Linked DNA regions of Homo sapiens: region 1 is linked to region 2. The links are contacts of gene promoters, found by promoter capture Hi-C in blood cells and fetal thymus (Javierre and others, 2016). All regions are on one chromosome and are shown on one strand. The core of a region is centred on a gene start or on the middle of the fragment in contact, and the rest is flanking DNA. Distances in the headings are between cores, read along the strand shown. Region 1 overlaps RAB11FIP2 (RAB11 family interacting protein 2). Region 2 holds the start of ATE1 (arginyltransferase 1).

Region 1 (7,005 bases), core at 2,807-5,306, 3.9 Mb after region 2:
TTATTTAAGGTTGTCTATTTCACAGAAATCGCTGTCATTTCTTATTTCTAGCCCCTGTTTCTTCAGATTTTACCATTTGCCTTATATAAGGGATTTTCTCAGTTTAAGGTCTCAGGCTAATAGTATTTTAAAATATTGATATTCTAAGAAATGGCTAGTTTTGATGCAACTATATCTGAATTGATTGAATAGCTCCAATTTAGTTAATCAAGAAAATATTTTTCTTCCATGTTACGTGCAAAGATGTAGCTGGTATTTATATCATGTGCCAGTATTTCAACTTGATATACAGTAAATGTAATCTTCTCTTGGCATATCCAGTTGGTAACAATGAGAGAAAGAACTAATGTAAAATTAGATCAGAGTTCCTTTGTAGCTAAGAAAATTTGTTACACTCGATTAGAGCTATATTTAAATAATAACCTGTGTGCAGGAATGGATATTATGCCTCATTGCTAAGTTATGTGAAAACATTGTAGAAACTCTTTCAGGCTTGATTTTGTAGTTTTTTTTGGCTGTTTTCCCATAGAATGACCACTTGTGACATGGCCAACTGGAGAATTTCTCATGGATAAAAATACTATAAAACCAAAATATTGCTTCTTGTATATCATTTAAATACAGATAGTGCCATACATTGAAGGGACTAAAACGTAAGATTTGGCTTCATTTTCAAAATAATTTTTATTTGGTATTGTCACAGTAGCAATAGTAAAATGAAGCAAATAGATTCAAACAAGAAGCATTTTAGGTTTTTTTTTTTCCTTTTGAAAACTTCACAAGATTTATTTTTTGTCACTTCTTGCATTTTACTTATTTTTTGCATATTTTATTCAGGAGTAGGCTTTGATTCATTTTATGTCAATCTAAATGACATCATATGCTGTTTTAATGATTAGCAAGCTATATGCAATGATCTCCAATGTTAACAAAATTCTTTTGCTACTTTTACGTAAGTAATATTTTGGGATGGGGCCAGGTATTTATTATTGTATTAAAATGTCATGAGATTCATTTTATAATGCTCAAAAATAATTTGTATTGGTGAATTCTTTCAAAATCTCTGCCTCAATGTCTTTTAATGTTAAAAAAAAATGTCCTTAGGCCGTGAGCAACACTTAATCCCATATGGAAAACTTCTAGCATTGATAAGAATTTTTGATGATGAGTGATTTTCAAATTACAAAAGAAAAGATTATCTGAAAACATTTTCAAACTTGCCAAAGACCTATTCATTCCTTCAGTATATGTTACATCACAGAGACAATGATCAGTTTTTTAAACTAAATAATAAGTAAAGCCCGAAATACTGTGGCTGACAGATTCTTATTCAGAGCTTAGGTTGCCTTGATGTATAGTTACTTTACCTAAAAGGCTATTTGTATGTAACAGAACTCAGTATCCTCTCTCTATTATGTGTTACAGCCAATTTTTTTTTCTTCTCTTTAAGGTGGTTTAGATTAGAATCCAAACAAGGAAAACGAATCAAAAACAGGGGTGAGATAAAGGTCAATATTCAGTTTATGAGGAACAATATGACCGCAAGTATGTTTGACTTATCAATGAAGGACAAAACCAGATCTCCTTTTGCAAAGTTAAAAGATAAGATGAAGGGTAGAAAAAATGATGGAACATTTTCTGATACGTCTTCTGCAATCATTCCAAGTACTCACATGCCCGATGCCAATAGTGAATTTTCAAGTGGTGAAATACAGATGAAATCCAAACCAAAAAAGCCTTTTCTCTTGGGTCCTCAGCGACTCTCGTCAGCGCATTCAATGTCTGATTTATCTGGGTCCCATATGTCTTCTGAGAAACTGAAGGCTGGCACCATAGGTCAAACACATCTTCTCGGACACCAGTTAGATTCCTTTGGAACAGTTCCAGAAAGTGGTAAGTGTCACATTCTTGTGTACTCATTGGTCTGAACTACCCTTTTAGTTTTTAAAGTTTAATTTCTAAATTTAGTAAATCAAAATAGCAGTTGCTTTGTAGTATTTTCCAAATTTTGTCATTCATCAAATATTGAGTACCTACTATACCTCAAATTGGTAAGTTCCTTGAAGGCAGAGCTTGTCTGCATTTGTATTTATATTATTAGATGATAATAAAATGAGTGCCAGTTTCCTTTTATGGCTTGGCTGCCTGTTTTACTGCTGTTTCTGCTATCTCAAAACCCTGAGCATAAATGAATGTTCCATTTCATCATAAAGTCCTTAGAAGAAAACTTTTATGTTCAGAAGTAAGAAAGTAAATTTAATGCTAATGAAAAAGTCTCTGAGAATTTTTAACATTATCATGCCAACCAGAACCTCTAGTTTTGACATCATAGTTTATATGATTGTGAGCTGAATACATTACTAATGGTCTAGCAATATGCTAGTTGTTATCAGCCTCGATGCTTCAGACTGCTACACCTTAGCATTTTAAGATTGTTTCCTTGATTTTTTGAAGGTTAATACATTTAAGTGGCTAATTGCTCTCATTCTAAAAGCAGCAGAATGCACACAGACTGTGTCAAATAGTGTGATGTAATGTGTCACTGATTATGTACTAACTACAAAATTGTTTGTAGGAAGTCTCAAATCTCCACACAGAAGAACATTAAGCTTTGATACTTCTAAAATGAACCAACCTGACAGCATTGTGGATGAAGGTGAATTGTGTTTCGGAAGACAAAATGACCCATTTACAAATGTGACTGCTTCATTACCCCAAAAATTTGCAACACTGCCAAGGAAGAAAAATCCATTTGAAGAAAGCAGCGAAACATGGGACAGCAGCATGAATTTATTTTCAAAACCAATTGAAATAAGAAAAGAAAATAAAAGAGAGAAAAGGGAGAAAGTTAGCCTGTTTGAAAGAGTGACTGGAAAAAAAGATAGCAGAAGATCTGATAAACTTAACAATGGGGGATCTGATAGCCCTTGTGACTTGAAATCACCTAATGCATTTAGTGAAAATCGCCAGGACTATTTTGATTATGAGTCAACCAATCCATTTACAGCAAAATTCAGGGCTTCAAATATAATGCCATCTTCAAGGTAAGCTTAATATGGGGGAAGTTCTACTATTTGGGAAAATCTTGTACTTGAAGGTATCAAATATTTCTTTTAAATGCTAGAATATTTTCAAGTCATTTTATTTTATTTGAAAAACATTTTTATTTGTATAATTAAATTATAGAGCCAGGCAATGTTGCATATATTTTTGGAACTGAACTTTTTTATCTTAAGAAGATAAAAGACTCTTATTCTCTATCCTGGTCTACTTCCACTTATGTGAGCCAGAAATTCACCAAAACTTAGAAAACAACATGGCTTGTGATGAGACATGGCGAGAGTGAATTGCCAGTGGGTGTTAGTTCAAGCCAGAAATTTAGGTGATAATGTTTCTAGGGATTCGTTCATGGGCTACCTGGAAAGGACCAACAGCAGCCCATGTGCTATTCTTTAAAAAACGCCAGCTTCAGTATTAATGGCTTTCCTAATAGATGTTAATTATCCTTATTAAATGGCTATTTAGAAGTGGTTTTTATTTGAGAATGCTTGTTATTGGAATTCAGTAACCCTCATGGGTTCTGTAGGTATACCCAAGGGATCTATATGATGATTTATAGTCAGAAATAATCACTCATGAGAAAGATTGGATTTTCCAACTTTGAGTTTTCAGTTATATATATAATGGTGCTTTTCTTATTCCTTAGTATATCTAAATTATATCTATATATCTAAATTTAAATCTATATCTATATAAATTTATATCTACATATATAGATATAAGTGTAGATATGCTAAGGAATAAATTTAAATATGGTTATGGATTTTACAGAAGTAAACGATGAAATAGCTGATTAAGGAAACCTCAAGCAAAGAAAAGATAAATTTATTCCCATCTTAAGTATAGTTGGCCCCCCATATTTGCAGGTTCTGCATTTTTGGATTCAATCAACCATGGAGTGAAAATATTTAAAAAAATAAATAAGAAATAACAATATAGTAATGAAAAAATAATGCAGATTTAAAAAACAGTACAGTGTAACAACTGTTTACATTGGTTTACATTGTATTAGGTATTATAAGTAATCTAGAGATAATTTAAAATATATGGGAGGTTGCGTATATGTGCAAATACTGTACCATTTTGTATAGGGGACTTGAATATCCCTGGATTTTGGTATCCTTGGAGTCCTGGAACCAATCTCTCTCAGATACTGAGAGATGACTGTAATTATCTTGGAAGAGCATGCTAGAGTGTTTACCACGTAATAGAAGATTTTCTTCAAGACAATATTATAGAGTGTACAGACCTGAATGGGAATACTGGCTTAGAAGTGCTATGACCTCCATAAACCTCAGTATCTCCATCTTTGAAACAAGGAAAATAATCCCACTTGATAGGATTCGGTGAGGATAAATGAAAGTACATAATACAAAGCCAGGCCCCAAATAGGGAATCCATAAATGGTGACTACAATTATGTTTGATGTATCGTCATGTTATATTTTACTAAAAAACAGTGCTTTGTTTTGTCCCACTAGAAACAGCAAATAGAGTATTAACAATCAATCACTTTTAGGCTGTGCCCTCTCACCTCTCTTATGTATCTTCCATGATATTTTAAAAATTTGCATTTAAATTTTCAAAGTGAAGTGTACTTTTTTTGTTTTCTTTTACCTATAAATGGATATTTGCCATGGTTTAAAAGAGTATTCTGTTCTGTTTATAAACCATACTCCAGAAGAATAACATTTTTATCATATGGTATCAATATTTTATTGAAGAGTTTATAGTTTTGATATGCCATTCAAAAATATTTTGGTATTTTACATACTGTACTTCACATATTACATTAAATCTTATATGGGTAAATAGAAATATATTTGCTTCTTTCCCTCTTTACTAAACTTTTTTTTACAGAAGGTTGTTGGAAACAACTGTCTGAGGTAACTTGGAGATGGGGCAATTTAGCTAATTTTAGAGTCAGAAGAAAAGCAAGAAAATGGAAAATGATAGGAAAATAATGTTTTTACATTATGGGTGCATATGGAAAAAAAAGCTTATTGAGTATTTGCAAATCTTTAATTGCCCTGTATTTGAGTTGTTTATGTGGGCTGTTACGGGTTTTAAAAGTGCCTGTGGCATTTTGACACATCCAGGCTTTGTTTTCAGTTACTTTATTATTATTGGCTGTTTCTAGCAAAATTAGAGCTGTTTTATGATGTATGAAATGATTGCAAGTATGTAAAAAAAAATAGTTGTTTTTCATTTTATGACTTTCTCTTCTTCATATTTATGAGATGCCAGATATGAGGACAGAACATTTGTGGATTCCTAGGAAGTTATTCTTTTTGCATCACAAACCATCCGTGTGGTAAATGTAAAACATTTGCAGTAAAGGGGTAGTTCTAGTTAATCTTATAAAAAAGAAGAATTGAATATAAATAGACCCAAGAAGAGTGTGCAGTTCACACTTTTGGCAAGCAGCTTTATCTTGAGTGGAATTTGGGAGGATATTGCCAAGGTAGTGTTGTCTTTACGTAACAGTATAGTTCTATTTTTCCTCCCAGTATCAACCCTCAGCTATCTGGGACATTTTAAATTTCTCACATTAACATCCTAACCGAATGCACTTTTGGAGCTATGGGCTCACATTATTAAGACACGTGCTGTGAATTTTTTTCAGGAGTGCTAAATAGACCTATTTACAGTTTCCTGGACTCTTGTGGCCAGTGTTTGTGAGAATGCTGAACAAGGTTAAGGGTAAAATACATAGCCATGGAACTGCATTTTCTTCTTGGTGAGTGAACTGGCTCACTTGTGATTGCTGGTACCTAGGAACCATATTGTTACCCTCTGGTTGAATAATGTATATTATTAAAACTGGAGAATTTTCTTTATGCCCAAAATTTTAAAATGTACTAAGGCACACTTTTTTTAGAAGTTAGACTTTTTATTCCTTAGTGTTAAGTAAAGTCCGCCTGAAGAAAGCACTTTGGAAACCACAAAAAATACCACATTTTGATCCTGTCCTTGGAATAGGTCCCATAGTTTTACATAAAACTGATAGAGGAAGTTAGGCATTATCTTGGGTTACTTCAGCAAAGAGCAGGGCTCTTTGAAACACTTTTCCCCGAAGTTACTAATTTGCAGTCTCTTACATGCCCCTATTTCTTTGAAGCATTTCCTGTTCTTGTAGGGAGGGGTAGTTGTTCCCTGTGCTGCAGCATTTTCTTACGTAAGTCTTGTCTTCTGTGGGCATGGCATTGTTCACTAATAGCTTAGTCTCACTTTTTTTGCCCACTACCATGAAGAGTTTGATAGCAGGGTCTGCATTTCATTCCTCTTTTTGCCCTTAGTCTCCAGCGTGATGCTTGGTAGGTAGCAGGTATTAGATATTTTGAATAAACGCACACAGTATAGCAGACCAGTTTCTTAATGCACACAGTGTAGCAAACCAGTTTCCTAATGCACACAGTATAGCAGTTTCCTGAAATGCTACTCTCATTCCGTTAGCCTCCTACTTCCAGCCCTGCTTGCGTGGGCTGTGAAGATCTTTCTAATAGACTGAAAACAGATCCATAAAGCCGTATGTATGCATTTTTATGTACAACTAAACATTGTTAAAAATCTAAGTTTTAAAGGATTACTAAAATTTAATATTCAATCTAAATAGCACATTTCTGGAGACTATTAAGAACTGTGTATTAGGGTAGGTTGTCAGCTGTAATAACCACGGTATCAGTGGCTTATCACAGCAAAAGTTTATTGCTCACTCTTGTCACAAAGGAGTTCACTGGAATGGTGATAGGAAAAGTGAGTGCTTTGCTCTATGCATTCATCCAGCTCTGCACAGTCTCTCAGGAAGCAGGCTTCTTCCTTCTTGTGATGCCACCATTTAACACATGGCCTCCAAGATCAGTGCAGCGCAGGAGGAGAGAGAGGATCAAAGGAGGGTCATTTCTGTGTGCCAGGCCTAGTGCAGTATGCATTACTTCCACATATG
Region 2 (4,200 bases), core at 1,701-4,200:
GGATATTACATGGCCACTCCTTAGGTGCCTTCCGATTGTGGGAGGCACAAGTGATGCTTGGCAGTATTAACAAGCGTGGGGAAAACAAAGAGAGATCAGACTGTTACTGTGTCTTCGTAGAAAGAAGTAGACATAAGAAACTCCATTTTGTTCTGTACTAAGAGAAATTCTTCTGCCTTGAGATGCTGTTAATCTGTAACCCTAGCCCCAACCCTGTGCCTGCACAGACATGTGCTGTGTTGACTCAAGGTTTAATGGATTTAGGGCTGTGCAGGATGTGCTTTGTTAAAAATGTGTTTGAAGACAGTATGCTTGGTAAAAGTCATTGATATTCTCTAATCTCGAGTATCCAGGGACACAATGCACTGTGGAAGGCCACAGGGACCTCTGCCCAGGAAAGCCAGGTATTGTCCAAGGTTTCTCCCCATGTGATAGCCTGAGATATGGCCTCGTGGGAAGGGAAAGACCTGACCGTCCCCCAGCCCATAAAGGGTCTGTGCTGAGGAGGATTAGTGAAAGAGGAAGGCCTCTTTGCAGTTGAGGTAAGAGGAAGGCATCTCTCTCCTGCTTTTCCTTGGGAATGGAATGTCTCAGTGTAAAACTCGATCATACGTTCTATTTACTGAGATAGGAGAAAACCGCCTTATGGCTGGAGGTGAGACATGCTGGCGGCAATATTGCTCTTTACTGCACTAAAATGTTTGTGTAAAGCCAGACATAAATCTGGCCTACGTGCACATTGAGGCATAGCACCTTTCCTTAAACTTATGACACAGAGATCTTTGCTCACGTTTTCCTGCTGACCCTCTCCCCACCATTACTCTATAGTCCTGCCACATCCCCCTCACCGAGATGGTAGAGATAGTGATCAATAAATACTGAGGGAACTCAGAGACCAGTGCTGGCGCGGGTCCTCCGTATGCTGAGCCCTGGTCCTCTGGGCCCACTGTTCTCTACACTTTGTCTCTGTGTCTTACTTTTTTTCTCAGTCTCTCGTCCCACCTGACGAGAAACACCCACAGGTGTGGAGGGGCTGGCCCCCTTCAACAAGTCACCAGGCCACCAAGAAACCTCCTTCAGCTAGGTACATATCTAACACAGGCCCTTGGGGTCAAGAATGTCAAAACTCACCTCAAAAATTTATTTCTATTTCTCTGAGTTTCATTTCACTTTTTTAAACACACTTAAAACAATATTGTATCATCAGCTTTATTGTTGACTGGGAAAACTATGAGGACAGACAGGCTTAAATTATCTGTGCACGCAGAGGGAAAGATAAGGCATATTACCTTGTTGGAACTCTTTTTTTTTTTTTTTGAGATGGAGTCTCGCTCTTTCGCCCAGGCTGGAGTGCAGTGACGCGATCTCTGCTCACTGCAAGCTCTGCCTCCCGGGTTCACGCCATTCTCCTGCCTCAGCCTCCCGAGTAGCTGGGACTACAGGCGCGTGCCACCACGTCCCGCTAATTTTTTGTATTTTTTAGTAGAGAAGGGGTTTCACCATGTTAGCCAGGATGGTCTCTTATCTCCTGACCTCGTGATCCACCCGCCTCGGCCTCCCAAAGTGCTGGGATTACAGGCGTGAGCCACCGCGCCCGCCCCTGGAACTCATTTTTTAAAAAATTTTTTTGAGATGGAGTCTTGCTCTGTCACACAGGCTGGAGTGCAGCGGCGTGATCTCGGCTCACTGCAAGCTCCGCCTCCCGGGTTCACACCATTCTCCTGCCTCAGCCTCCCGACTAGCTGGGACTACAGGCGCCCACCACCACGCCAGGCTGATTTTTTGTATTTTTAGTAGAGACGGGGTTTCACGTGTTAGCCAGGATGGTCTCAATCTCCTGACCTCATGATACGCCCGCCTCGGCCTCCCAAAGTGCTGGGATTACAGGCATGAGCCTCAATTTTATATTTTGCCCTAGACTCTTATTCCTTAAATCTTCCTTAAAATAGTGGTTGCAAAATGGAGGCCCATGGGCTGGATTCAGCCTGTAAAACTGTTTTGTTTGGACTGTAGAGTTAAAAAAAACAAACAAACCCTGTATTTCCAGCATCTCATTAAAAATCGTATGAGGCACCGGACTTATAGTGGTACAAGACAGCAACTGTCTCTAGCTGACAGTTGTTTCCTTTAAAAGCCGTTAAGAGTTCTTTAATTTGCGAACCCTCGCCATTCACGGAATACCTGCTTGTGTTCTTGTATTCAGGGCACTGGAGTGCGTGCCAGCTGGTCTGGAAGCAGCTCCAGCAAGTCACTTACACGGTGGCCAGGGGCGGCCTGACTTTCAATCCGAGACCCGCCGGGAATGACTTTGGGATAATCACAACCTCCGGTCCTCAGTTTCCTTACCTGTGAAATGGGGCTGATAACGCACAGCTGTGGGAAGCACCGGCCCAAACGCAGGGCTTGGGGACACGACCACCATCCCCGCCCACGGGTCCCCGCGCCAGGCTTCGCTCTCCACCCCTCCCGCCGCGGGCCCCAGCGCTTCGCCGAGGTCGGCCCCGGGCGCCAAGAGGCGTGGTCGGCCCGAGCGGACCCTCGCGGCGGCCATGGCGTCGGTGGTGGAATACAAGGGCCTCAGGGCCGGCTACCACTGCGGCTACTGCGATTCCAAGGAGGGCAAAGCGTCCTGCGGTGAGTGTTCCCGACGCCGGAGTTGGCGCGGCCGCCGCGCCCCGCACAGGCCCTCGGCGGGGGAAAGGGCAGGCTCGCACCCCGACTCCCGCTTCCCTTCCCCTCTTGACTCTCCCCATCCTGTTTCCCTTCCCGCTCTGTCTCTCCGCCTCACCCTCACTGACGACGGCGGCCCCTTATGGAGAAGGAACGGAAATAGTGGAAAGCTGCCCTCGGTCAAGATGGCGCGGGCGGCGTCAGCTCCAAGAGGCGCCGGGCCGGCCGGGCCTGCGGGCGCCCGAGTGGCTTCGCGCGAGCCTCGGGAGGCTCCCGGGCGGCGCGCTGCATTGTGGGGTGGCGGCGGCGGCCGCGCTAGCGACGCGGGGCCGGGCGGCTGAGCGTTCGCGGGGCCGAGGCCATGGCTTTCTGGGCGGGGGGTTCGCCCAGCGTCGTGGACTATTTCCCTAGCGAGGACTTCTACCGCTGCGGCTACTGCAAGAACGAGTCGGGCAGCCGCTCCAATGGTGAGCGAGCCGGGCCGGCGGGCGTGGGAAGCCGGGCGCCCGGGTCTCGGGATCCCAGGGTCCCCCAGCGAGGACGCGAGGGGGCCGGAGCCCCTGGCCCCAGTGCCACGGCCGAGACGGAGGGGGCACTCTCGGGAGGGCCGCGGCGCCGGCTTAGCGGGGCAGCTTCGCGGTGCCTGTTCTGCAGGAAAATCCTAACCGGTGCCCGTACTCTCGAAATCGTGGTGGTCTCCCCAGAGTCGGGAGACGGACGCCCGTCTGGGGTAGATTGTGTGAGGTGAAGGACGGCGCGCAGTGCCAGGGAACGCCCCAGAGCCGTAGTTAATGGCCGGGGCTGACCGGTGGGTGCTGCGGTGGGAGCGTCCCGGGAGCGAGGGCGAAACGCGGTGCAGAGGGAGCTGTGGGTGTGCACACAGGTGCCGGTCATGTATGAATCAGACTTCCCTGGACGAATGTACAGGAAGGATGAGCCCTTTGCATCTCTGGGTTAAAAAAAAAAAAAGTTAAAAAAAAAAAGGACAAGAAACTGGTGACCGCGGTCGCTACCGGCGAGGGATTCTGTTTGTCCTGATCTGTTTGAAATTTTTACCATTTGCTTATATGCCGTGTCTTTCCTCCACCCACCCGGACGACAGCAAAGCCAGCCCACAAGTTTGTTTTGTTTTTCCATCGTGATTCAGATTTCTTTGGGGGAGATTTGTTGCTGGTAAACAAAACATCGTGTTTATTTCCTCTCTTGCCATGCATTTGCCAATATAGAATGTAGACTCTATTATTTTAATAGAACAGTCTAGCTTTGTGGAAAACGAGATTCGCATGAAAACACACAGGCATTTTCCATGAAAAAGGTGTAAGTGGGGAATGATTTGGTCGATAACGGTGTGTGCATTTGCTCCTTCATTAAAAGTGTTTATTAAGTGCTACTTGTGGGCAGCGGTTTTGAGTAGACAGTTATGCAATCGTTAGAAGTGAGGATTATGAAGACTAAATGGAAAAATGCTTCCAGTTTGGACTTAAACGGAGAAAATCAACAGGATGCAAATGGCTTATGCGACATGATTAC

The links. The method cuts DNA at HindIII sites, captures the fragments that hold promoters and counts their contacts. A CHiCAGO score of 5 or more calls a contact.
Region 1: a fragment that was not itself captured here is called in contact with the fragment with the promoter of ATE1 in region 2 in 1 of 17 cell types (total B cells); the score reaches 5.4 in total B cells.

What each region holds. Positions count from the first base shown.
Region 1 is chr10:118,035,011-118,042,015 of GRCh38, reverse strand. It overlaps RAB11FIP2 (RAB11 family interacting protein 2), which reads left to right. Exons shown (of 5, transcript NM_014904.3): 2 at 1,451-1,893; 3 at 2,576-3,044. Among named protein-coding and RNA genes, the nearest start is that of CASC2, 8.3 kb to the left of the region's middle. RefSeq lists a silencer at 6,196-6,389. The HindIII fragment of the contact is 2,009 bases long and covers 3,052-5,060 here.
Region 2 is chr10:121,926,781-121,930,980 of GRCh38, reverse strand. ATE1 (arginyltransferase 1) reads left to right here and starts at 2,950. Exons shown (of 12, transcript NM_001001976.3): 1 at 2,950-3,137. The coding sequence starts at 3,032. It also overlaps the pseudogene ATE1OSP. RefSeq lists silencers at 253-547, 2,369-2,668, 2,859-3,278 and enhancers at 2,184-3,050, 3,589-3,738. The HindIII fragment of the contact is 6,802 bases long and covers 1-4,200 here.